5 separate regions of the Homo sapiens genome follow, and regions 2, 3, 4 and 5 are each linked to region 1. Evidence: promoter capture Hi-C in 16 types of primary human blood cells and fetal thymus (Javierre and others, 2016). All regions are on one chromosome and are shown on one strand. The core of a region is centred on a gene start or on the middle of the fragment in contact, and the rest is flanking DNA. Distances in the headings are between cores, read along the strand shown.

Region 1 (2,540 bases), core at 16-2,515:
CCAAGCAGGCTTCCAATTTGGGCTTCCAAAGAAAGAGGGTTTGTGATCACCGAGAGCCCTCAGGTGGTTGCCGCTTTGATGGGGGAGGTGGCTTCCCTATCCCCCTCCACCCATGTTTGCCTCTCCCTTTGGGCCCTCACCCCAGGTAGCCTCACTCTTGGGGGCATTTCATCTTCAGCAGCCCCTCCGCACACACTTTCTGACCCTGGCTCCAGGCCCTATCGCTGGCCTGGACCCGCCCTAGCCTCGTCGCTGAACTCACCCCTGCCACTTCTTCAGTAAGGATCCCTGAGCCCCTGCCACCTGCTGGAAAGAACCCTGCGGGCTTCCTCTTGGCCTTAGGGTGGTCTCAATGGCTATAACCGCCTCTCCCCAGCCTGGTGCTCAGCCCTGCATCTGCGCCTAGGAGGCGCTCGTTGAACGTGTATGGGATGAATGAACGAACCCAGGACACGGATCAGACATGACTTACATAACCGCCGTTACCTGTGGTCCTTCCTCCTGCACTCTGCCACGCTGGCCGCACCAGCCTCAGCCCCGTCAGGTCTGCAAGGCCCATTCCGACCTGACCCAGGCCCACCTTTCCAAGAACCCTTCCAACCCCGCCCTGCGGTGCAGGTTCTTTCTGCTCCCTGACCAAGCCCGGCCCGGCCCTGCCCTGACACCCTCTTCCCTTTCAGGCTCCGCCCCTGCACTGGCACTGCTCCCTAAGGCCCTCCCAAGGCCCTGCCTTCTGTCCTGGACCCACCCTGAGCGCCCTCCTACCCTGACCCTGCTCTGCGCGGCCCCGCCTTCCTCCTTTGTAACGGCTCCGGATCCCAGCCCCGCCCCTACCATAACACTGCTCCGCAAGGCCATGCTCAACCCCGCTTCCCGCTCTGGCCAAGCCCCTGAGTCCTGGCCCCGCCCCTACTCTGACTTTGCTCAGCGAGACCCCGCTCGTCCTCGCCTTCCTTCTAGTCCCTTCCCCAAAGTCCCGGCCCCTCCCCAGACCCAGGCACTGCTCCCGAGCGTCTTCTATCCCGGCCTGTTCTGCGAGGCTCTGCGAGGCCCCGCCCTTCGGCCGTGACCGCGTCCCTGAGGCCTGGCCCCCATCCTGCTCGGCCGTGCTCCGCTCGGCCCCACCCTCGAGGCCCCGCCCCTTCTTCGCCTTGGCCCCACCCACCCCCTCCAGGCCCCGCCCCCGGCCCCCTTCCGGGGTCCGAACTGGCTCCACCTTCGCCTTGGCCGGGCCCCGAGGCCCCGCCCCGAGATCCCGCCCCCCGTTTCAGGACCGTTGGCACCGGGCTAACGGTTCCACCACGTCCGCCGCCCTGGACGCCCGCGGCCTGCCCCCCCCTGCCTCTCCTGCGCCGGTGAGCGGCGGGTGCTCCCACTGCTGTGCGTCCCCGGGAGCCCGCGCACCCTCTCTGGGCTCCACCCAGGCTGAGAGCTGGGGTCGTGGCGGCGGGGGTGGAGAGCGCGCCCCTAGAGGTTCGCGCGGTCGGGGCCCCGGGGCGGGTGCAGACAGCCCTGGACTCTGGAGCCCTGTCCAGGGCGGTCCTGTGCCCCTGCGGCTGCGGGAAGACGGGGTGGGGGGCTTCCGAGTAATGGGGCATCCCAGTTAGTGAGGGGGCAGGAAGCCAGCGCTGTGTCCGTGTCTCTTTCTGCCCCCAGATACACTTCGAGTGGATTCTGGCCATTTGAGCATTCTCTCCAACTCTCCAATCCCCAGTCTGCCCCCACGGGGGTCTCCCCCACCTCTCCCCCGTCCCACAGCCTAAACCCCTCTTCGCCCTGAACCTCCCTTTTCCTCATGCGGTGAATGGGCACTGGCCCCGCTCAGACTCCCAGGAGCACCAGAGCTGGCCCTGAGCCAAGCCCTGCCCCACCAGGACCTGGGGACACGGGTGACTCAGACGTGACTCAGGAAGGCTCAGGTCCTGCTGGCATCCGCGGAGGTGAGACGGTGATCAGAGCTGGGATGGGAGACTCCCCAGGCAGAGGGGCACCTGAGAGGAGGCACAAGGCCCAGCCTGGCCGGGCTAGGAAGTATGAATGGAGACCAGAAGGGTGAGGACGGGTGCATCGGGTGGCCGGAACACAGGGGCAGGGGCTTGGCGGGGAGGGCACTGCTAGAGAGCTGGCAGGTGGGGGGCCAGTTGCTGGCGTCTAGGGGTGGTTTGCCCATCCTCATAGGGGGCCAAACCAGGGCCCCCGGTGCAGGGCTAGAGCCAGACCCACATTCCTGAACCTGCTAGTGGAGAAGATTCCAGGATCTTCTGACGATGTCCGTCTGCCTCCATCGCCCCCATCAGAGTTTGCTGCCCAGCCTGGGGGGGTGAGGAGGGGAGTGGCCATGCCTGACCCTCATGCTGTGTTTTGAGATATAACATATAGCCCGGGGGTCCCATTCAGTCAGTGAACAGATGACTGAGCCCCTAAGCTGGTGCCACATGGGGAGAGGGGCAGGAGGCCGTCAGTGAAACCAGGAGGAGGTGAGAGTGGTCCTTTCAGGAAAAGCGAGGTGTGGGGAGCAGTGGCCGGAGGCTGGCATGGCC
Region 2 (2,540 bases), core at 30-2,529, 430 kb after region 1:
TGCTTGGAATAAAAAAATATATATGTCTTTGTTGTCACCAGCATCTTATGGAAAATTAGCCCTTCATTCAATTCTTAGCGTAGGCTGGGTGCCGTGGCTCCCAGCACTTTGGGAGGCTCAGGTGGGAGGATTGCTTGAACTCAGAAGTTCGAGACCAGCCTGGGCAACAGGGCAAGACCCCCATCTCTACTAAAAATACAAAAACTAGCCAGGCATGGTGGCGCACACCTGTGGTCCCAGCTACACAGGACACTGAAGTGCCAGAATCGCTTGAGCCTGGGAGGCACAGGTTGCAGTGATGAGCCAAGATGGCACCACTGCACTCCAGTCTGAGCGACAGAGGCAGACCCTGTCTTAATAAATAAATAAAAAATTCTTAGCATAGACAACAAAATACGGCAGTATTAGCAGGACCTGTAACTTTTCACCAAGCGGAATCACAGATGTTTCCTAGCTATGGTGCAGGGGCTGCAGACGTTTCCGTATCATCAAAGCCTCATTTCCACTCCTCACTCCTTCCAAATCACAGTCGCAATTAGACCTGCCGCTAGATCGCGTTCATAAGGGAAGCACTTAGATTACTAAGTCGCCAATCAGGTTTCAAGACAATCTTTTAATAACTGCCTCTCCGTGTAACTGATTTCCTTGCAATTCTATGGATTTTATTCCATGCATTTAATAACTTTATCTGAGCAGAGGTCCGCAGGCTTCAGCTGATCCCAAAAAAGTCCCTGGAGCAGGACAGGCTCTGCGAGAGGCCCTTACCTCCCAGGGGTGGGGAGGGAGGTGGAGGGTCCAGCAGGGTGGCGTGGATGTCCTGGGTCCTGTTCCTTCCCAGGCCCGGCCCTGTGACCTCGAAGACCCTCAATGGGCCTCAGTTTCCCAGCCTGTCAGGCAGGCCCCGCTCTCTCCAGGGCATCTCAAGAGCAGCCTCGCGGGCCGTGCCCTGGTCTCGGGGACGTGAATGGGGCCCCTCCAGCCTCCACCCCGAGCGCCTTCCTGAGGCTGGAGGCTTGCGTCATGACCTACCGGGCCTCGGTTTCCCCGACTGTACTCTGGACGCAATAACGGCGACCGTTCATCGCAAGCCGGGCGGGGAGCCCGAGGAGCGGCCGGCTCGGAGAAGCCCGGAGAGGACCGCGGCCACGACGCCGGCACCGACCCCCGACGCCACCACGACACCCGAGGCTCCCACGGCCCCAGACCCGCGCGGCCCCACACCCGCCGCCGGTGCCGCGCTCACCTGACAGCACCGCCATCTTGGCCTCGGCCTTCAGACAACCTCTGAGGTCCGTTCTCCTTAGCGCTCCGGGTTCCCGGGGCCGCCGCCCAAAGCGGCTCGGAGCGCATGCGGAAACCGGAACCTGGAGCCGGGAGGTTCCGCTGCGCTTTCGGCCTCCGTGGTCGTGTTGCGCCGTGCACCCCCAGATCACCCGAGGCGGAAAGGTCATCGGAGTGCGCACGTGGGGGCCGCGGGTCTGCGGCGGACCGACAAAAACAGAGGCGACACTCATTTTCTTGTTATTCCAGGAGGGCAAAAGTCACCACGCGTCCCTGGGTGGGCTCGAACCACCAACCTTTCGGTTAACAGCCGAACGCGCTAACCGATTGCGCCACAGAGACGACACTGCGCTCCGGCGCCCTGGGAGACCTTACAAAGGATGTGGGGCCTGCTGACGCGAAACGACTGCGCCTGCGCAGGGAAGGCGCAGCGCGGGACGGAGTCCCGGCGAGAGCGACTCTGCCGCCCAGCCGAAATAGCTCAGTTGGGAGAGCGTTAGACTGAAGATCTAAAGGTCCCTGGTTCGATCCCGGGTTTCGGCAGAAGTTTTAGCGCCTCTTGCGATCACTGATGTCTTTCGTTCAGGATTGGTCCAGCTGCCTCGCAGCTATCCCGGACCCCTTACCGCAACATCACCGCATTCTGCAGAGGAGTCGCCGCGATGTGGACTCATCCCAAAGTAAGGGGGCTCAGACCTCACAACCCCAAAGCCTCCTCTTCCCACCCCTAAGAGGTCATAATTTCAGCTCAAACTTCCCCCTTCCCTGACACACCCTCGATTTTCCATCTTGCTTAAATTGATAAGTTTACAACCAGTACTAATGATATAAAAACTAACACTAAACACCCAAACTAGCAAAACAGAGTTTGCAGAACGCTTTCTGCATGCATATCATTTAATTTTCACAATTCCACTGGAGGTTTTGTCTGCCTGTTTTATGATTACAAAAACAGAGGCAAAGGCCGGTGCGGTGGTTCACGCCTGTAATCCCAGCACTTTGGGAGGCTGAGGCAGGCAAATCACCTGAGGTCAGGAGTTCAAAACCAACCTGGCCAATATGGTGAAACCCTGTATCTAAATCCCAGCTACTCGGGAGGCTGAGGCAAGAGAATCACTTGAATCCGGGAAGCGGAGGTTGCAATGAGCTGAGATCGTGCCACCGCACTCCAGCCTGGGCGACAGAGTGAGACTCCATCTCAAAAAAAAAAAAAAAAGAAAAAAGAAAAAGAAAAAGTAAAGAAAACAGAGGCTCAAATT
Region 3 (2,540 bases), core at 1-2,500, 360 kb after region 1:
GGTCACCATCCCATGCCCAGCCAGGTGGAAGGACCAGATGACGTGCAAAGCAACACATGTCTGCCTCCTGCTCCCCAAACCCAGGCCTCCCCCACGTGGTTCTTCTCAGCTGACCGAAGCCAAGCCTCAGACACCTTCCCTCTCCCCACATTCGGTGGTCATTTCTGCATCCTCATCAGACTAAGCTAGTCCCTCCAAGCTCTGCCCAGCGGGATCATGCCTCCCCCAGCTCCTGACACCCCTCTGTGAGGACATTCTGATCAGCCTCTTCCTGGCCTCCCACAGTCCCCCATGCACAGCCAGAGGGAGCTTTAAACGTCACAAGTGAGATCCCATTTCTCCCATGCTCAAACACCTTCCATGGCTCCCCAGTGCCCTCAGGATACGCTCCGACTCCTCCATGTACACCGCGACTCACTTAGAGGCTGGAGGCTCTCTTCTCTCAGGCCTTTGCACGTGCAGTTGCCCTGCCTAGAGCACCTTTTCTAAGTCCTGCCATCCCACACAGTGCAGCTTCTTCCACGAAGCTCTTCTGCCTACTTTCACCCCCAGGTTGCATCGTGTAGCCTCCTGGGGGCCTTCCTGAGCGATCACTCCCTGAAGGCACCATGACTGGGGGCTGGTCTTATTGAGCGGGCTGCATTTCAGGGGAGGGAGGCACAGGTATGGGAAGCCAGGCCCAAAGGGGCCTTTCTCCTTCCTTTAATCCAAACCCCCTCTTTCCAGAGAGGGAAACTGACACCCAGAGAGGTGCAGCAACACCCCCGAAGACACACCACTGGCCTGCCCATCCCTTCCTCCGATCACCTCAGGGAGGTCCGGATGGTGAAGCCCGTGAGTGGGTGTGTGCGCAGGACCGGCTGCAGAAACGCTGACGCCCAGCTCACCGGGACTCAGTTTCCCCTCCAGCTCCCACTCTGGGGAAATGGAGGGTCCAGAGTCTGTGCTGACGGGCAATGCTGAGAGCCAGGGATGGAAACCTCGACGCGAGGCGGAGGTCGCGCCCCTGCCCTCCTCCCCGAGGACACACACCCGCTTACGTGCAGCTGGGCTGGCGGGGCGCCTGGGTCTGGGGCCTCCTCCCTCTGCGCGGCTCCGCGGGCCCCACCGGAAATCCCGGCCCGGGGTGGCCTCGGAGCGCGCGGGCTCCGGGGTCTCCGCGGCGCGGGCAGGGGCTCCGGGGCGGACAAAGCCCGGTCCGGGCCTGGGCAGGCGGCGCTGCCGCTCCTAGCGCTGGGCGAGACCACCGCGAGCGGGGGAGGATGCGGGATGAGGGATGCGGGTGAGACAGCCAATGAGGGCGCGGGAAGACGGGCTGGTGCCATGGCAACAGCCAATGGCGGCCCGGGGCGGGGACCGGCGTCGGCCGCGGGGCGTCGGGCCTCCGCGCGGGCTCAGGGGCCGTGAGTGCGGGGGGCGAAACCCCCCCGAGGGAAGGGGGTGCCCCGAGGACCAAGATTCCTGTGTCCCGCACTTTATTGCAGGGTGCAACGGCCTCTTAAAACCTCCTGCGTCTGGATTTGCAGAATTGGAGAGTAAAACATCAAATCCTGGATGTTACATCAGCATCTTGGCGGGGGAGGGGTTTCCAGGGCAGTGGCCGGGCTGGGGCCAGGCCTGCACCCACCCCACAGGTCCAGCCTGGCCTGGTGCAGGTGCGTCAGGGTGGGACAGGGTTCGGGTCCAGGCTGGAGCTCCCTGAGGGTCCTGCCTGGTGGGGAGGGGAGAGGGGAGGAGGGGCAGGGCCACTGGGGAGCACCTGGGACGCTGCATCTCCCCACATTTCTCCCTGTCTCCCCAACGGAGCGTCAGATCCTCCTGTAACTCCGTTGCTCTTCATGTCCCTCTCTCTTTCTGTCTCCCCCTCTGTTCTCTGTCTCTCAATCTCTGTCTCCATGTGTCTCTGCCCCTGGTGGGTGGCACACTTAATTCACCCTCACGGACCGAAGGCCAGAGGAGGGAAGGGCCAGGGGTCCCAGGAGTCGCCATCTCCAGGTGTCCTGGATGCTCCATGAGTCCCTGGAAGCCATTTGAAGGTTTAACACACAGAGCCCGTCCCTGCAGCTCGGAGCAGCCCTTCCTGCTCTGGACACAGACTCACAGCACAGAAAGGGAGGCGACTGGGGCCAGAAGAGTGATTTTTTTCCGTGCTGGGCAGGCAGGGCAAATCATTCGCCGCTCAACCCTCGGTTTCCTCCTCTGTAAAATGGAGAGGAGGCGGAAGATTCTGCAAGGGCTGGTGCAGGGAATGATAGGAGAGGGTGGGAAGGTCCGAGTATTCAAGGCCCCGTAGACAAAGGCAAGGGAGGACCCGTGCTGTTTCCTGTTGGGCCTTGAGCTGAAGACCCGAGGGCCTTGTCCCGGGCCAGCACTGCCAGGGGCTGAGAGCCCTTCGGCCTGGCTGTCTGGGAGCCCCCAGAGCTGGACGCAGCTGTCCCCACTGGTTGGGTCTGGGGAGGCAATGCAGTGGGCAGACACAGGGGATCTTTTCTTTTTTCTTTTTCTTTTTTTTCTTTTTTTTTTTTTTGAGACGGAGTCTT
Region 4 (2,540 bases), core at 12-2,511, 330 kb after region 1:
GAGTGCAGTGGCACGATCTCGGCTCACTGCAAGCTCTGCCTCTCGGGTTCATGCCATTCTCCTGCCCCAGCCTCCTGAGTAGCTGGGACTACAGGCAACCGCCACCATGCCTGGTTAATTTTGTTTTTCTTTTTGTATTTTTAGTAGAGACAGGGTTTCACCATGTTAGCCAGGATGGTCTTGATCTCCTGACCTCGTGATCCACCCACCTCGGCCTCCCAAAGCGCTGGGATTACAGGCGTGAGCCAACACACCCAGCCTAATTTTTGTATTTTTAGTAGAGACGGGGTCTCACCATGTTGGCCAGGCTGGTCTCAAACTGGCCTCAAGTGATCTGCCCGCCTCGGCCTCCCAAAGTGCTGGGATTACAGGCATGAGCCACCGCGCCCAGGCTGAATTTACAGTTTAAACAGGCGAATTTGGCCGGGCGCGGTGGCTCACGCCCGTAATCCCAGCACTTTGGGAGGCTGAGGCGGGCGGATTGCCTGAGCTCAGGAGTTTGACACCAGCCTGGGCAACACAGTGAAGCCCCATCTCTACTAAAATACAAAAAAAAATTTTGACGGACGTGGTGGCGGGCGCCTGTAGTCCCAGCTACTCGGGAGGCTGAGGCAGGAGAATTGCTTGAACTCGGGAGGCGGAGGTTGCAGTGAGCTGAGATCACGCCACTGCACTCCGGCCTGGGCGACACAGTGAGACTCTGTCTCTAAAAAAACAAAACAAAACGAAATAAACAGGAGAACTTTATGGTATGTAAACTGCATCTCAATAAAGCCCCTGAGAGAGGAAAAGGGCCCTCTGCTCTTTCTGCCTTCCCAGGCATCAGCGGAGAGGAAAAGGTGACCTCCAGCACCGTCCCCGAGGTGGGAGGACCCGCCTTGGCCGGAAGTGGAGGCGCCGCGACCGCCCCGCCCCCGCTGTGTTCCGGCCGCCGAGTGCTCATGCACCACCAGGCTCCCTTAGGTGGACAGCAATTTTGTGCTCCCGTCAGCCACATGGGTGGCGTGTCCCCTAGTGCCGTGTTCCCCTTTTCAGAAAGACGAGCCTCGGATGCTTTTCTACCCAGCCAGTGGAGCCTGGACTCGAACTCGCTCTCATCGTAGCGCGTCCAGGTTCGGGTTCGCCTGAGAGGCTGAGATCCGAGTCTCAAGGGCACTATCCCTTTAAGACGGGGCGGAGCCCCGCGATGAGCGGCGGGCCGGCGGGAGAGGAGGCCGGAAGTGTGTGTCACGTGTTCGGGGACGGGGCGGTGCTCCGACCGGAATCGGAAGTGGCTGCGTCGTCGACGCTGGGCTTTCGGGTCCCGCGCCCAGGTGGGAAGAGGCCGGCGACTGGGGTGACCGCGGGGAAACTGAGGCAGAGGTTGAGCCAGACCCTGAAGCCTTGGCCACCGTGTTTTTGGGCGGAGGGAGGGTCAGGGCCTGGGGCGAGCTCAGAGGGGCGGGACAGGGCGGGCTTCCCCGGGAGCGGGACCGCGACGGGTGCGTACGAGTTCGCTGGGCGGGAGGAGCAGCCCGGGCAAGGGCGGAGAGGTGGACGCCCCGGTCAGCGCCCCCTTCCCCGCCTTCAGAGATGGGCTCCAAGGCAAAGAAGCGCGTGCTGCTGCCCACCCGCCCAGCGCCCCCCACGGTGGAGCAGATCCTGGAGGATGTGCGGGGTGCGCCGGCAGAGGATCCAGTGTTCACCATCCTGGCCCCGGAAGGTAGGGGGAGCCCGGTCCCGGGGAAAAGCGGACCTGAGACCCCGGCAGCAAGGGGACGGGAGAGAAGCACACCCCTAACTCCTGACCCCACGCCCTGGGAACCCCCGCAACATGGGCACGGTCCGTATCCTCTCCGAGTCTCCCTCTACTCCTCCGTAGAGTGGGACCGATTTTCAGAGGGTTCTTCTGACAGGGGTGGAGGCCGGGCGCTGTGGTTCAGGCCTGTAAGCCCAGCACTTTCGGAGGATGAGGCGGGAGGATCGCTTGAGCCCAGGAGTTCGAGACCAGCCTGGCCAACATGGTGAAACCCCGTCTCTGCTAAAAATGAAAAAACAAAACAAAAACAAAAACAAAAACAAAACAGAGTTAGCTGGGCATAGTGGCAGGCGCCTGTAATCTCAGCTACTCGGGAGGCTGAGGCAGGAGAATCGCTTGAACCCGGGATGCAGAGTTTGCAGTGAGCCGAGATCGCACCACTGCACTCCAGCCCAGGTGACAGTGCGAGACTGTCTCAAAAAAAAAAAAAAATTACTGGGTGTGGTGGTGGACACTTGTAGCCCCAGCTTCTTGGAGGCTAAAGTGGGAGGATACAGCCTAGGCAACACAGCCAGACTGTGTCTCAAAAATAAATAAGTGGCCGGTGCGGTGGCTCACGCCTATAATCCCAGCACTTTGGGAGGCCGAGGTGGGTGGATCACTTGAGGTCAGAGGTTGGACACCAGCCTGGCCAACATGGTGGAACCTTGTCTCTACTAAAAATACAAAAATTAGCCGGGTGTGGTGGCATGGGCCTGTAATCCCAGCCACTCAGGAGACTGAGGCAGGAGAATCACTTGAA
Region 5 (2,540 bases), core at 17-2,516, 290 kb after region 1:
CACCCGGGCTGGAGTGCCGTGGTGTGATCTTGGCTCACTGCAACCTCCATCTCCCGAGTTCAAGCAATTCTCCTGCCTCAGCCTCCCAAGTAGCTGGGACTACAGGTATGCACCACCACACCCAGCTGATGTATTTATTTATTTGTATTTTTAGTAGAGACGGGTTTCACCATGTTGGTCAGGCTGGTCTCAAACTCCTGACCTCAAATGACCCGCCTGCCTCGGCCTCCCAAAATGCTGGGATGACAGGCGTGAGCCACCAGGCCTGGCTTCCGGTTCCTTCCTGATAGCACCAGTCCATCCTGGCATCAGTTCAGGCATTTGTTAAGCACTTACTGCATATGGGCCTGTGTCAGGCTGTGCGAGCCCAAGGCAGACCCAGCCCTGTCCTCGTAAAAGGACCACTGCTTAACGGACTGCAAGAACGTCCAAGACTTCACCAAGTCAGGGGTCAAGGAAAGCTTTGGAGGTGGAAGGAAGTGAGCCAGGCCCGTTCTGGGCAGTAACTTGTCCCTGAGGCAGGTGCTGTTCTTAGCCCTGTGTTACAGATGAGGAAACTGAGGCTCCGAACGTCCGGTGCCAGCCCAGGATCACCGCGGACTGCATGTGGCTGAGCCTGGAGTCTAGGTGGGAGTGAATCCAGAGCTCCTGGTCCCCCCACAATAGGTCTGTCCCTCTTTCAGGCTGCCAGCCCCAGCAGTCCCAGGGAGCAGTGCCAGGCAAGGCCCTCGTGCTGAGGCGGGTGTCTGAGCTTCCTAGGGGGAAAGAAATCAGAGTTCCTGGCCCAGAGCCTCGCAGCCCGCCTGTCAGCTGATGCTCCTTGCACAGAGACCGGCTCGCCCTCCCTCTCCCCTGGCCGCCCGCGGCTTTTCCTGGCTGAGACTCCACTATGGAGCTGGGAAAGGCCTCCTAGTCCCAGCCTGTGCCCCTCTGAGCAGGGACTCTGTCCCCCAGCCTATGTGAGCCCTCCTAACCAGCTGTCCCCATCCCCCGCCCTGCCCCAGGCTGGCTGCTCACCACAGCCTTGCCCCAGGGGAGTTTTGGGGGGCTAAGGATGAATGCCCCCAAAGACACCCCTCAGCTCTCCCTGAAGGCCTCTTACACAGATTAGGGGATGGGGAGGGACTGCTGTTGGGTACAAGTCTCCTTTTGAGGATGAACTGTTTTAGAATTAGATAGAGGGGGTGCTTGTTCAACACTGTGAGGGCAGTAAATGCTGCTGAATTGTGCATTTTAAAAAGGGTAAATTTTATGTTATGTGAATTTCACCTCAAAGGTTAAAAAAAAAAAAAAAAAAAAAGAATTGGCCGAGCCCTGTGGCTCACACCTGTAGTCCTAGCACTTTGGGAGGTCAAGGCAAGAGGATCACTTGAGGTCAGAAGTTCGAGACCAGCCTGGCCAACATGGCGAAGCCCTGTCTCTACTAAAAATACAAAAATTAATCGGGCGTGGTGGCTCACACCTGTAATCTCAGCACTTTGGGAGGCCGAGGCGGGCAGATCATGAGGTCAAGAGATCGAGAGCATCCTGGCTAACATGGTGAAACCCCGTCTCTACTAAAAATACAAAAAATTAGCCGGGTGTGGTGGCGGGTGCCTGTAGTCCCAGCTACTCGGGAGGCTGAGGCAGGAGAATGGTGTGAACCTGGGAGGCGGAGCTTGCAGTGAGCCGAGATCGCGCCACTGCACTCCAGCCTGGGCGACAGAGCGAGACTCTGTCAAAAAAAAAAAAAAGGGAAAAATATATTAGATTCCCTACCCCCTAAAACACATAGTCCTACTAATGCCCCAGTTTACAGATGGGGAAACTGAGGCACGGCTTGTGTGATGAGCACAGGATGCCGTTTTGCAAAGGGGCAGGGCAGGGTTCAATGGGGCCACCTGGCCCTCCCATCCTACCCCCTGCCCTGGGTTCTTGAGGCCTGGGTGGTCTAGCACTGCAGCCCCTGTACCCCCAGCACCTCTCACATCCCAGACCACAGGCTCGATTTCCTCTCCAGTCTCTGTTCTTTTGCTGACCTGAGAAAACCACAGACTCAGCGGATTTTGCGGAGAAGTGCCGGGAAGCTTTGCTCAAAATACCTACTGCAGGTGGAGGCGTGGCAGCTGAGACAGCAGGCACCCGACTCCCTGGAGGCCCAGGAGGCTCATGGGGCTGCCTCCGAGGTCAGCGGCGGCCCAGGCCTCCCCAGCACCCTCCTTCCGGCAGGCGCCAGGGTGGAGGCCACCAACCAATGTGACTCAGCCCAGCTCCCTGGTCCCTGCCTGGTCTCCTGGCCTTTACCAAGCACCCGTGGGTCTCACGTGCCTGGACGCCTGACCACGCAGGTGCCCAGGGACCCATGGCCCTGGGAGCAGAGCAGGCAGGAGACGTACCACCACCACAGGGCTCCAGAGACCCCCACTGATTGTGGTTTATGCTGCACGACATGGCCCAGTGTGAGCGCAGGAGGGGGCGTCCAGACTTGGTGCCCCGAAACCAAGCCCTGTTCTTCCCTCTCTCAACTCTGTTTCCTCCTAAAAGCACTGTTGTCCAGATGC

What was found. Contacts are between HindIII fragments. The CHiCAGO score rates a contact against its expected background, and 5 or more counts as called.
Region 2: a contact is called between the fragment with the promoter of NDUFS7 here and the fragment with the promoter of ATP8B3 in region 1, in 2 of 17 cell types (M0 macrophages and total CD4 T cells). The highest score is 5.7, in M0 macrophages.
Region 3: a contact is called between the fragment with the promoter of APC2 here and the fragment with the promoter of ATP8B3 in region 1, in 1 of 17 cell types (naive B cells). The highest score is 6.0, in naive B cells.
Region 4: a contact is called between the fragment with the promoter of C19orf25 here and the fragment with the promoter of ATP8B3 in region 1, in 1 of 17 cell types (naive B cells). The highest score is 6.1, in naive B cells.
Region 5: a contact is called between a fragment that was not itself captured here and the fragment with the promoter of ATP8B3 in region 1, in 1 of 17 cell types (megakaryocytes). The highest score is 5.2, in megakaryocytes.

What each region holds. Positions count from the first base shown.
Region 1 is chr19:1,811,001-1,813,540 of GRCh38, reverse strand. It overlaps ATP8B3 (ATPase phospholipid transporting 8B3), which reads left to right and starts at 1,265. Exons shown (of 29, transcript NM_138813.4): 1 at 1,265-1,355; 2 at 1,657-2,052. The coding sequence starts at 1,805. RefSeq lists enhancers at 472-631, 1,012-1,757 and a silencer at 1,182-1,551. The HindIII fragment of the contact is 25,835 bases long and covers 1-2,540 here.
Region 2 is chr19:1,382,646-1,385,185 of GRCh38, reverse strand. It overlaps NDUFS7 (NADH:ubiquinone oxidoreductase core subunit S7), which reads right to left and starts at 1,279. Exons shown (of 8, transcript NM_024407.5): 1 at 1,244-1,279. The coding sequence starts at 1,259. TRF-GAA1-6 (tRNA-Phe (anticodon GAA) 1-6) reads left to right here and starts at 1,752; the gene lies at 1,752-1,824. It overlaps TRN-GTT2-6 (tRNA-Asn (anticodon GTT) 2-6), which reads right to left and starts at 1,623; the gene lies at 1,550-1,623. RefSeq lists silencers at 1,150-1,209, 1,460-1,599, 1,780-1,909. The HindIII fragment of the contact is 18,765 bases long and covers 1-2,540 here.
Region 3 is chr19:1,448,831-1,451,370 of GRCh38, reverse strand. It overlaps APC2 (APC regulator of Wnt signaling pathway 2), which reads right to left and starts at 1,250. Exons shown (of 15, transcript NM_005883.3): 1 at 1,033-1,250. RefSeq lists a silencer at 1,204-1,403. The HindIII fragment of the contact is 28,474 bases long and covers 1-2,540 here.
Region 4 is chr19:1,477,936-1,480,475 of GRCh38, reverse strand. C19orf25 (chromosome 19 open reading frame 25) reads left to right here and starts at 1,261. Exons shown (of 3, transcript NM_152482.3): 1 at 1,261-1,313; 2 at 1,571-1,702. The coding sequence starts at 1,573. RefSeq lists enhancers at 1,095-1,214, 1,576-2,076 and a silencer at 1,435-1,484. The HindIII fragment of the contact is 20,570 bases long and covers 1-2,540 here.
Region 5 is chr19:1,520,062-1,522,601 of GRCh38, reverse strand. It overlaps LOC107985337 (a long non-coding RNA gene), which reads right to left. Exons shown (of 3, transcript XR_001753835.2): 3 at 125-755. Among named protein-coding and RNA genes, the nearest start is that of PLK5, 2.7 kb to the left of the region's middle. The HindIII fragment of the contact is 1,605 bases long and covers 464-2,068 here.